4 separate regions of the Homo sapiens genome follow, and regions 1, 2 and 3 are each linked to region 4. Evidence: promoter capture Hi-C in 16 types of primary human blood cells and fetal thymus (Javierre and others, 2016). All regions are on one chromosome and are shown on one strand. The core of a region is centred on a gene start or on the middle of the fragment in contact, and the rest is flanking DNA. Distances in the headings are between cores, read along the strand shown. Region 1 holds the start of LINC02574 (long intergenic non-protein coding RNA 2574). Region 2 overlaps LOC101928391 (a long non-coding RNA gene). Region 3 overlaps LOC101928391 (a long non-coding RNA gene). Region 4 holds the start of MAP3K6 (mitogen-activated protein kinase kinase kinase 6).

Region 1 (2,700 bases), core at 49-2,548, 290 kb before region 4:
TGGAAAGGGGGGTCTGGGCCAGCCGAGGGTCTGGGGCAACAGTAGCTGGAGGCTGCCGAGGCAGGGGAGGCCTGTGGCTTCCTGTGAAGAACAGAGGAGCCACTTCCTTTAAGCAGATGGCTGGGGGAGGGGTGGAAGATGAGGGAGCATAGGCTTCCTGGCTTAGCGGGCGGAAAAGGGGTCCCAGGAAGGCCCCATGAACAGGTCCAGAGCAGCCTTCTCTTTCCCTCTTTCTGGGTCTCCATGGAACAGACAGCTGAGACAAGGTAAGGTCACACTTGTGAAGTTCTGTGCCGTGAAGCCACAGAAAGGATAGTCAGGTTAGGGAACAGGCTCATCTGTAGAGGCCAGTAAAGAAATGGAGCCTTGGTTATTCCAAAAAGCAAGTCCAAGCACCTACCCCCCAGTATCCAAGTCCCAGTCCCCAGCCTCAGAACCCAGTCCCAGAAATCCAGCCCCCATTTCCCCGCTCCAAGCACCAGTTCCCAGAGAAACGTCCAGTGCCAAGTCAGAAGCTGGCAGAGGCCCACTGGTTCATTATCTGTGTGAACAAATGGCATGGGCCCACAGGAGAGATTTTTTTTTTTTTTTGAGACAGGGTCTTGCTCTGTCGCCCAGGCTGGAGTGCAGTAGCACAATCACGGCTCACTGCAGCCTTGACCTCCTGGGCTCAAGTGATCCTCCCACCTTAGCCTCCCAATTGGGACCACAGGCATGGACCACCACATCCAGCTAGTTTTTTTTTTTTTTTTTTTTTTTTAGATGGAGTTTCGCTCTGTCACCCAGGCTGGAGGGCAATGGTGCAATGGTGCGATCTCGGCTCACTGCAACCTCCACCTCCCGGGTTCAAGCGAGTCTCCTGCCTCAGCCTCCCGAGTAGCTGGGATTACTGGTGCGTGCCACCATGCCCGGCTAATATTTGTATGTTTAGTAGCTACGGGGTTTCGCCATGTTGGCCAGGCTGGTCTTGAACTCCTGACTTTAGGTGATCTGCCTGCCTCAGCCTGACCACAAATTCTTGATGAACCAGTAGAGCTTGCCTCCCAGCACCCACAGCTACCAGGGCACAGCGTGGTTTAACTGCTCCAGGTTCTGATCTGCAGAAGGGGTAGGGGTCTTCACTCAGCCATGATCACTATCCTTGGAACCCACCAAACTAAGCCCATTTCTCCTTCAGTCTTTCACACTTGGGCCAAAGACACCTCCAGGCATGCCGGTGCCTAGGCCAGACACCTTCCCAAAGGCTTTTCCCCCTAACTTTTCAGTGATGGCTCCTTCTGCACTCTTTGGTCTTCACTCAAATGTCACCTCCTCAGAGAAGCCCTCCCTGACCACCTACTTTAAAATTGCCTCCTTGTTTCTCTCTACCATAGTAATTGCCAACTTGTCTGCCCCTTGGAATCATCTGAGAGCTTAAAATTGTATGGATACCTGTGTCTCACTCACGGTGTGGGAACAGCTTGCTCTCCATGTCACTCTTTTAATTTTCTGTATAAAGCCAGTAAAGACATAGAGTCTTGGTGACTCCAAGAAGTAGGCCCGGGTACCCAACCCCAAGTACCCAAGTCCCAGTCCTCAGCCTCAGAGCCCAGCTCCAAACACCCAGGTCCAAAGTTTTACATATATTAACTCTTTTCATCCTTACAATAATTCTCTCGGGTGTTCTTAGGATCCGCATTTTACAGATGAAGAGATCAAGGTACAGAGAGGTTAAATAATTTCCCTAAGGCAAGCAGCTAGCAAGTGACAGGACAAGGATTTGAACCCAGAGAGTCTGCCTCTGTAGAACAGTGCCTGGCATCTAGAGGGGCTCAATAAATAATTGTCCAATGAATGAATGACTTAATCTTAACTCCCTCTGCCTCACCCACCCCCATATTCAATCCATCAACCCACCTGCCTGAGGATTGTATCTTCTAATTATTTATTGAATCTGTTCATGTCCCACCCACAGTAGCCTCCCTCTCATCTAGCTTACTACCTTCCATGCTGGAGGGCACCTCCTAGGTGTCCCTGTGTCCACTCTTACTCCCGTATCCACTCCTGTCTATTCTCCACACAGAGGTAGGGAGATTTTAAAACACTAAGTACCCAGTGACTGCCCACAGCACTTAGAAGAAAATTCTATTTCCTTACTATGGCCTCCAAGGTCTTAAATAATTCGCTCCCGTAAACCTCCAGAGCCTCATCTCACTCAGTTTCCTTTCCCTTATTTTCCAGCCTGCTAGCCTCATTGCCTTTGCACAAGCTCTTCCCTCTGCCTGGAACACTTGTTGCTTCAGGAGTCGGCTCGATGTAACTTCTACAGGGACCTGAGCCCCAATCCAAGTTAGACACCTGGTTATTGCAGCAGCCTGTATCTCACCGTCCCAGAATGAATCATGACTGCAATGAAAACGATGGCATGAGCATTTGTTACCATCAGGCTTCCGCCCTAGATTATGAGCTCCCTGAGGACAAGCAGAGGGTTCATCTCTCTTTATAGCTAGAACCCAGCACAGCGCCTGGCACTCAGGAGGCACCCAATTACTTTGGCTGACTGGATAGACATACATACAGACGGACGGATAAATGGCTGGAAGAGGAGTGATTGAAAAAATACATTTTAAAATGCCCTGGCTGCATTTCTTAGAGCAGTTATAATGCGCGCAATTCACACGGGAATTATTTTCACCCTTTGAGGGTCCGCACCCACCGGTG
Region 2 (2,700 bases), core at 168-2,667, 310 kb after region 4:
TGCAGGACATTTTCCCCTGCTCCCAGAGCAACTGCGGGTATAAGGCTGTTGGGCTGTCGTGTGAGGGGGATTTTCCTAAAGACACAGCACACAGGGAGAATAACAGAAGTCACCTTCCTGAGGCTGCCCCGCACTTGGGTTCTGAGGACCTTCGCTCCCTCCCCTCCTTCTCTTCTCCTCCCTCCTGTCTCCCCTGCGGCAACCTGAACTACTCGGCTCTCTCCCCGCTCCTCCTCCTCCTCTGCAACTCAGCTCTAGTCCTGCCTGAGGCCGAACCCTTGAACAGGAGGCCAGGGCTGGAAAGTTGTGGAAATGCCCCTGTGGGGAGCCCTGCCAAGGATGCTGAGGCTGAGCCCCAGCCTGGGGGAGGGGGTGTCCTGATCTGAGCAGACCCTGAGGGCAGACAGAAGGCAGCCAAGGTCTAGAGCTGGTGCCTCTAACCACCTCTACCCCAGAGGCTGTGGGATGCTTGGGAGCCAGGATAGGGCCGGGCTTTGGGTCTACACTACCTTGGTCCTGAGATGGAGTCTAGGAACATTGGTGGGGGTGCCAAGCATTCTGTAGAGGTAGGATGGGGTGGGTCCCTCTCACTTCTTCAGCCCTCAAGATTGCATACAACAGGCTCCTAAGAAATCACTGAGGCTGGCTGGCACGGTGGCTCACAGGTGGCTGAGGCAGGAGAATCACTTGAACCCGGCAGGCAGAGGTTGCAGTGAGCCAAGACCGCGCCACTGCACTCCAGCCTGGGTGACAGAGCGAGACTCCGTCTCAAAAAAAAAAAAAGAAAAAAAGAAAAAAAGAAATCCCTGAGGCTTTTAAGCCTCGGAGGGAGAGCCTGCTGACTCCTTGAGGTGTACAGAGGCACCAGTTTTTAGGAGGACAGAATCTTTCTAAGGCAGTTTGATTTTTACCTTCTCAGGTGCAGGAAAAGTGACTGTTTCCTTCTCTGTGAATTTCCCATGGACTAAGGGACTCCCGACAGGGGGAGGGCCCTCTTGGCAGTCAGCTTATTCTGAAATTTGAATTTCCAATGCACCTGGAGGAATCCAGAGGGGAAAGGTTGTTATTTATAACCAAAGCTTCCTTCTAAGGAAAGTAGATCCTGCTGCATTAACTAAAAGGCCCTTTTGTTCTTAAAAGGCCCTTACTGGGTTTGGCTTGGCAGCCTGGTTTGGGAAGAGCAGGAGGGGCTAGGGAGAGCTGAAATGCAGGGTCTCCTGTGTGAGAATTGGAAGCCCCTGGGGCATCGAGGTGTCTGTCACGCAGGGGCTGAAGAAGGGAGGCGGGTAGATGGGCATGGGCGCCAGCAGATGGGAGCAGCAGCCCTGTGCGGGCGGGGCTGGAGGATGCCTGAGAAACCAGCTTGTAAGAGCAGAGACGTCCCAGTGCCACTTTCAGTCGTGTGCTGAGCCACTCTATAACTCTTCCAGGGACCCACAAATCTTAGTGAAATTCTGCTTACAGAGCAGTCTGGTATCCACGGTTTCTTGGGAGAAGAAACGGGCTGCATCCTACATTTGAGTCAATTCCAGGGCAGAAATAAAGGGAACAGCTGCTAGAATTCAGCAGAAGCCGGAAATCAGAGGCACACAATTGTAAGCCTGAGAAATTGCAGAAGCCTTGTGGAAAGTAAGGGATGGGGTCTGAGCCAACCTTATTTCAATCCCAGTGGGCTGGCGGACCCCAGCTACCAACCATGGGTTCTGCCTAGGGGCAGATATTTGCCCCCCCGCTTCCTTGCTAAAAGAAGCTTGTTTTGTTCTGGTGGGAGGACAATGTACTAATTACCCCCAGGTGGATGGTGACTGGGATATTTACATTTGATCCACTCCCCTCTGCTGGTAATTGGGTTGGGGAGAACCATGGGACCCTGTTCTGGCCAATGAGATAAGAGGGGGAGGCTGCTGGGGGCTTCTGGGAGGAATTTTCCTCCTCTTACAAAAAGAGATGTTTTAGGAGGACCCCTGTCCAAGCCTCCCTTCCTGAGATGCTGCCCGTGGCAAATGCAGCCACACAAAAGTGCAGGCTCCAGGGTCAAACCATCTGGGCTAAAAGCATGGCTCTGCCTCCGATTGGCTGTGTTGTCTTAAGCAGATTACTTGACCTTTCTGTACCTCGTGTTCCTCCTCTGCAAAATGAAAATAATTGGACTTTCTTCTCAGGGTGCTGTGAAAATCAAATGAGTGAATACACCTAAAATGCCCAGACAGTTCTAGCACATGATAAGTACTCAATATATAACAGCTGTTATTTAGTTGCTCTCTGTGGATATGATGCTTGGAGCCACGGTAGTCATCTTTCAACCATGAGGGCCTTGACTCAAAAATGGTCTACCCCAAGATATCTTAAGATAAAAGTCCTGTGGGGTTTTTTTGTTGTGTTTTTTTTTTTTTTTTTTTTTTTTTGAGACACTCTCACTCCATTGCAGAGGCTGGAGGCTGGACTGTAGTGGTGTGATCATGGCTCACTGCAGCCTTGACCTCCCAGGCTCAGACGATCCTCCTGCCTCAGCCTCCTGAGTAGCTGGGACCACAGGCACATACCACCGCACCTGGCTCATTTAAAAAAATTATTCGGAGAAGGCCGGGCACAGTGGCTCACGCCTGTAATCCCAGCACTTTGGGAGGCTGAGGCGGGCAGATCACGAGTTCAGGAGTTCAAGACCAGCCTGGCCAACATGAGGAAACCCCATCTCTACTA
Region 3 (2,830 bases), core at 267-2,766, 330 kb after region 4:
GCAACTGTAGTCCCATCTACTCTGGAGGCTGAGGCAAAAGAATTGTTTGAACCCAAGAGGCGGAGGTTGCAGTGAACTGAGGTCACACCACTGCACTCCAGCCTGTGTGACAGAGCAAGACTCCATCTCAAAAAAAAAAAAAAAAAAAAAGATGGGGATGAAGAGATTGAAAGGTTTAAAGGTGACCAGAGGGGCAGGAGAGTGTCAACATGAACGCTTGGGTGGGCTATGACCTTCGATAGACCTATGTTTGAATCCCAGCCCCACCATTCATTTATCTTGGGTAAATTACTGAAGCTCCCTGAGCCCCAGTTTCCAAATCTTTACAGTGGGAATAATGATAGCATCACCCCAAGATCCTCTCGTGCAGGTTCAATGAGGCAGTATGGGTGAAATAGCTGCTGTTATTTTCAGACTTACCAAGCTTGTGACCCTGGAGTGTAGGGTGAGGTGCGGTGGGGAAGAGGCCACTCAGGGTACAGCCTGCCCAGCCACAGGCTGGGGAGACTCCTGCTGTGTTGCTGCCTCTGCCTGCTAGACAGTAGTTATTTTACAATTACTATCGTCCATCCTTTCCCATCACTCCTGCTTTAGAGTTTACAGAGTGCTTTCATTCATTCATCCCTCCATTCACTCATTCAGCTTTTACAGAGTGCCTCTTATGTAAGCCAGGCATGGTGCCGGGCTTCCAGTATATCCTGGTGAACGAGGTAGGTACTGTCCTTGCACCTGGACGACTTACAGACATCCAGTAGTTAATCACACGAATAAATATGTAGTTAGAAATTGGATTGCCGGGCGCAGTGGCTCACACCTGTAATCCCAGCACTTTGGGAGGCCGAAGTGGGCAGATCACAAGGTCAGGAGATCGAGAATATCCTGGCTAACATGGTGAAACCCCATCTCTACTAAAAATACAAAAAATTAGCCAGGCGTGGTGGCAGGTGCCTATAGTCCCAGCTACTCAGGAGGCTAAGACAGGAGAATGGCGTGAACCCGGGAGGCAGAGGTTGCAGTGAGCCGAGATCGCGCCACTGCACTCCAGCCTGGGCGACAGAGGGAGACTCCACCTCGAAAAAAAAAAAAAAAAAAGAAGTGGTTTCCCTGAGAAACTGGGAAGGCCCTTCAGAGTGGACCCAAACTGAGGCAAGGTGGCCAGGCCTTTGAGCCTCCCATTAACCAGTAACAGGCTGCCCCTGGGGAGCAGACATGCCCTTGTCCCTGAGGATGGGACATTTGACTGAAATTTGAAGGCTGGAAAGGAGCTGAGGGAAATGGAAAAGAGCCCTGCTACAGAGGGAGGCATGGGGAACAGGGAGGCAGCCTTGAGGCAGCTGCAGCAGCTGAGAGGAGGTGTGCAGAGCTGGGAGGTAACCCCCGGGGTCAGGAGCTCAATTTATCGTCAAAGCAATGGGTAGCCTTGAAGGGCTTAAGCTGGAGATTGGCTGGATCTGCTTGGATCCTTCTGGCTGCCCTGTGGAGAAGGGGTCAGAAGAGGCAAGAGAGCCGGGGGGGGGGAAACCACTTAAGAAGCTGTGGAGATTTAGACAGGCCACAACCTTGGCCTCAGGCGGTGGCTCCCGAAATGGAGAAAGAAGGAGGAGGCAGTAAAGTCTGACCCTCGGGGGGCTGAAGCCAAGCCAGAGCCTCCACTATGGCTGGTTGGTTGTCTCAGGAGCAGTCACTCTGGGCTCTGGGCTCTGGGCTCTGGGACCCTGAAACAGACTCAGAGGAGATCCTCACTCAGCAGCTTACGGGGGGCTGCTCTCAGGGACCACCCCAAAAGGGAGTGAGAAGCAGAAGCTACAGCCAAGGCCTCAGCCTATTCCACAGGGAATTCTGGGGCTGAAAGGGCCCTTTAGAGGCGACCCAAACTGAGGCAAGGCGGCCGCATCTTTGAACCTCCCTGTTGACTGTTAAAAATCTAGACTTATTACAGAGCTCTCCCCCATCCCTCCCATTTGCGGAACTTCACAGGTGTTTACATACATCCAGGAGCCCACACTGGGTCAGCCTCAACTCTGGGTGCTGCTCGGCCCAGTACACAGTAGGCGCTCACTGAATGTTAGAAGGCCCAGACAGAGTGGAGGGAGGAAAGAGGCTCAAGTTCTAAGGAGGCTCCCAGCTTTCTTTGTGGTTTGGGCCCCAGGCTAAAACAGGCCAAACTGGGGAGAGAAGACCATGCAATGAGTTTGGGACATGTGAGGCTGCGGTGGCCAGCCCCCCGAGAAGCCCCACCGTGAAGGAGGAAGAGGAAGAGACCGAGAGGAGAGGACTCAGGGAGGGGGAGCCTGGAAGGTAGAGTTCCAGAACGCATGGAGGTGGCAATGATGACGCCAAGGAAGGAGCAGCAGAGATGAGGACCCAGAAGAGGGGATGCAGAGAATGCGGCAGGGTCTGGTGAGGGCAGGGTCAATGCAGGAAACAGAAACCCCTCTTGGTGTTTTTAGCAGCAAAGTATTTAATACAGAGCAGTAGGTCCTTGCACAACCATCAGAGAGGCTCAATGAGCCAGGCCTCCAGGAATGATTCCAGACCTTTCCATACTCGACCCACTGAGAAAGTCAACGCCAGAGCTATGAATTCAACAACTTACCACTGAAGCTTCAATGCAGGGATCAGAAAGCTGGATTTAAGAAGCTGCTACCCCTGCTTTCATCCCTGCGACTACCTCTGAGCAAGCTCGAGGCTGGAGCCTGACACCAGATCACCAGTGCAGAAAAACCTCGTGTTCCTGCAACCTTGCAGGCTGGCAGAAACAGCCAAAAGGGGGCACAAAATAACTTAAAATTAATAAAATGACAATTTAGCAACAACAACCAACACTTAC
Region 4 (2,721 bases), core at 195-2,694:
GACAATTTCCCGAGGCCCTCTGGGTCCTGCAAGTGGATGGCTTTGTGGCAGGAATTGCACAATTGCATAGCTTTTTTTTTTTTTGAGATGGAGTCTTGCTCTGTCGCCCCGCCCAGGCTGGAGTGCAATGGCACGATCTCCACTCACCGCAACCTCCATCTCCCAGGTTCAAGTGATTCTCCTGCCTCAGCTCCCAAGTAGCTGGGATCACAGGCAGGTGCCACCACACCCAGCTACTTTTTTTTGTATTTTTAGTAGAGACGGGGTTTCACCATGTTGGCCAGGCTGGTCTCGAACTCCTGACCTCGTGATCCACTCATCTTGGCCTCCCAAAGTGGGATTACAGGCATGAGCCACCGCCCTGGCTGGGAATTGCACAGCTTTCTCAGCCTGTCGGTTGCCCATGCCTGTCCTTTGTAAGTTGTCTGTTTTCCACTCCAGCCTCTGTTGCAGGCCAAGTTCTCAAACTCTACCACTTCCTGCCTATCTCATTGGGTGTCAGTTCGAATCCAAGGTCAAACCAAGGAAGGTACCTTTTTCTTCCACAAGGCAACAGGGCAATGAAACAGCCATTGAGTAGCATTTAAGCAGTTTATTTGCCCAAAGCCACATTCTAGTAAGTGGCAGAATTAAATAGTTAAGAGTCTGACAGGCGGTCCTGGGTTTGCACCCTGCTGTCATGTGCTGAGTGATCCTGGACAAGTTATTCAACTTAAGTCCCCAGTTCTTGGTTTCAGGGTCCACTGAGGCTTCTACCAGGTTGCTGCCTCACTCATTAATTCACACAAGAAAGTTGGGGACTCTTGGGGATTTGAAGCTGAGAAGCTGCTGTAGTGCAAAGGGCTGGGGTTGACTCCTTCAAGGGGTGGCTAAAGAAATGTTTAGAGTTGTTTAGAGTAGGAAGTGCTTCTCAGGTCCCATGGCCACGTTCTGCCTAGAAGTCAAAGGTCAGCGGGGGTCCACAGCAGGTTGGGTCCTGGGGAAAGCAGCCCCCTAGTGACAGTTAAGGCTCAGATGCCAAGTCCCACTCCAGGACTGAAGGCTTTCGGGCAAGCGGCCTAGGGTGTAGGTTTCCCCCATCCCAGTCCCTCCCTGCCTGCGCTCACTGGGCCCGGGAGGACACCCATTGTTCATCATGCTCTGCGCACCCTGATGTCTCTAGAGAGCCATTCATTCAACAGATACCTGCAGAGCAGGGCCTGCATATCGAACCTTTTCCCTAGCCCTGGCCTCCTCACACATTTTATGTGCACTTGCTGTGAGCAGTCCACAGTCTTTGGCGTGCACAGGGGCACAGGCTGTTCCGGAAGCCGCCAGTCTCCAAAGTTCTGGCGGGAGAGAAGGGAGGGGAGAGGCTGAGTCTCAAGCCGCTAGGGAGCGGCTCTGCCCCAGGGCCGAGGGTGGAGCTTTCTGGGTCGGCCGGGAAAGGGCTGGGCTTAGCCTACAAGTGAAGGCAGGGCAGCGTTGGCGGGCGCTCCCTTGAGAAGTCCAGGTGGCGGGCACCTCCGAGCCGATTCCCAGGATCCCCCAAGTGGCTCTGAGCTGCCGATCACCGGATGCCCCAGATTCCTGGGACCCAATCCCGGATTTCAGAACCTCAGGACCTTGCAAGTCCGAGCTAGGATTTCTCCCTGGACTTTAGATTCCTGGAACGGGACGTCAGGCCGTATTCCGGATCCCTAGATCCCGTGGGAGATTCTCCGATTCCGAACGGATTCCAGATCCCAAGATTCCTGATCTGCCGGCCCAGGCTCCTGCCCCGCCCCCGGTTCCCAGTGCGCGGCGCCCCGCGCCTGAGCGCCCCCGCATGGCGGGGCCGTGTCCCCGGTCCGGGGCGGAGCGCGCCGGCAGCTGCTGGCAGGACCCGCTGGCCGTGGCGCTGAGCCGGGGCCGGCAGCTCGCGGCGCCCCCGGGCCGGGGCTGCGCGCGGAGCCGGCCGCTCAGCGTGGTCTACGTGCTGACCCGGGAGCCGCAGCCCGGGCTCGAGCCTCGGGAGGGAACCGAGGCGGAGCCGCTGCCCCTGCGCTGCCTGCGCGAGGCTTGCGCGCAGGTCCCCCGGCCGCGGCCGCCCCCGCAGCTGCGCAGCCTGCCCTTCGGGACGCTGGAGCTAGGCGACACCGCGGCTCTGGATGCCTTCTACAACGCGGGTGAGAGCGCTGGGGGCGGGGCCGGATCCGGGCGGGACTCAGGGTCCTGGGAGGGGACCAAGCCGGGCTCGAAGGCTCAAGGGAGGGGCCGAGAGGGGTACCGGGTCTAGGGGACTTAAAGTGAGCTAAAGCTGAAGGGCTTGGGACAGGGCCGTGAAAAAAGTGGGATTTAGGGGATCTGGGGCGCGGCCGGGCTCGGGACGAGACAGGGATCCGGGCGCGGCTCTAGGGCTCGAGGTTGGGGCTTAGGCACCCTTCAGTCGGAGCGGTGCCCAGCCAGCGGGGCAAGGATGGGGAGGGGCTTTGGAACTCTGGGGCGGGGCGGGGAGCGGCGCGGGGCTGTGGTGTCTCAGGGGTGGGGTTGGAGAACTCAGCCTCACCCTCAGGAGAATGTCACGCGGATCTCTTGAGGACAATTACTGGGAGAGGAGCTTGGACTTAGGGAAAGGGGCCGGGAGGCTGGAGTTCAGGAGTCCTAGCATACTATTTCCAAGGATCGGGCTAGGAGAGGCAAAAAGAGAAGCGAAGGGGCCCGACGGGACTGGATACTGGGTGAGGGAGCTTAGGTTAAGTG

What was found. Contacts are between HindIII fragments. The CHiCAGO score rates a contact against its expected background, and 5 or more counts as called.
Region 1: a contact is called between a fragment that was not itself captured here and the fragment with the promoter of MAP3K6 in region 4, in 2 of 17 cell types (total CD4 T cells and naive CD8 T cells). The highest score is 5.5, in total CD4 T cells.
Region 2: a contact is called between a fragment that was not itself captured here and the fragment with the promoter of MAP3K6 in region 4, in 2 of 17 cell types (endothelial precursors and M0 macrophages). The highest score is 6.4, in endothelial precursors.
Region 3: a fragment that was not itself captured here is called in contact with the fragment with the promoter of MAP3K6 in region 4 in 1 of 17 cell types (M0 macrophages); the score reaches 5.3 in M0 macrophages.

What each region holds. Positions count from the first base shown.
Region 1 is chr1:27,660,243-27,662,942 of GRCh38, reverse strand. It overlaps LINC02574 (long intergenic non-protein coding RNA 2574), which reads left to right and starts at 221. Exons shown (of 2, transcript NR_151722.1): 1 at 221-266; 2 at 2,221-2,615. RefSeq lists enhancers at 1-89, 159-368, 90-605. The HindIII fragment of the contact is 8,150 bases long and covers 1-2,700 here.
Region 2 is chr1:27,056,734-27,059,433 of GRCh38, reverse strand. It overlaps LOC101928391 (a long non-coding RNA gene), which reads right to left. Exons shown (of 8, transcript XR_007065559.1): 6 at 912-1,036. Among named protein-coding and RNA genes, the nearest start is that of TENT5B, 45 kb to the right of the region's middle. RefSeq lists silencers at 82-376, 1,102-1,396. The HindIII fragment of the contact is 671 bases long and covers 1,082-1,752 here.
Region 3 is chr1:27,038,930-27,041,759 of GRCh38, reverse strand. The region is part of intron 3 of LOC101928391 (a long non-coding RNA gene); the gene reads right to left. Among named protein-coding and RNA genes, the nearest start is that of TENT5B, 27 kb to the right of the region's middle. The HindIII fragment of the contact is 2,180 bases long and covers 427-2,606 here.
Region 4 is chr1:27,365,684-27,368,404 of GRCh38, reverse strand. MAP3K6 (mitogen-activated protein kinase kinase kinase 6) reads left to right here and starts at 1,444. Exons shown (of 29, transcript NM_004672.5): 1 at 1,444-2,147. The coding sequence starts at 1,808. RefSeq lists enhancers at 578-1,519, 1,520-2,463 and silencers at 1,716-1,825, 1,856-2,075, 2,146-2,195. The HindIII fragment of the contact is 32,893 bases long and covers 1-2,721 here.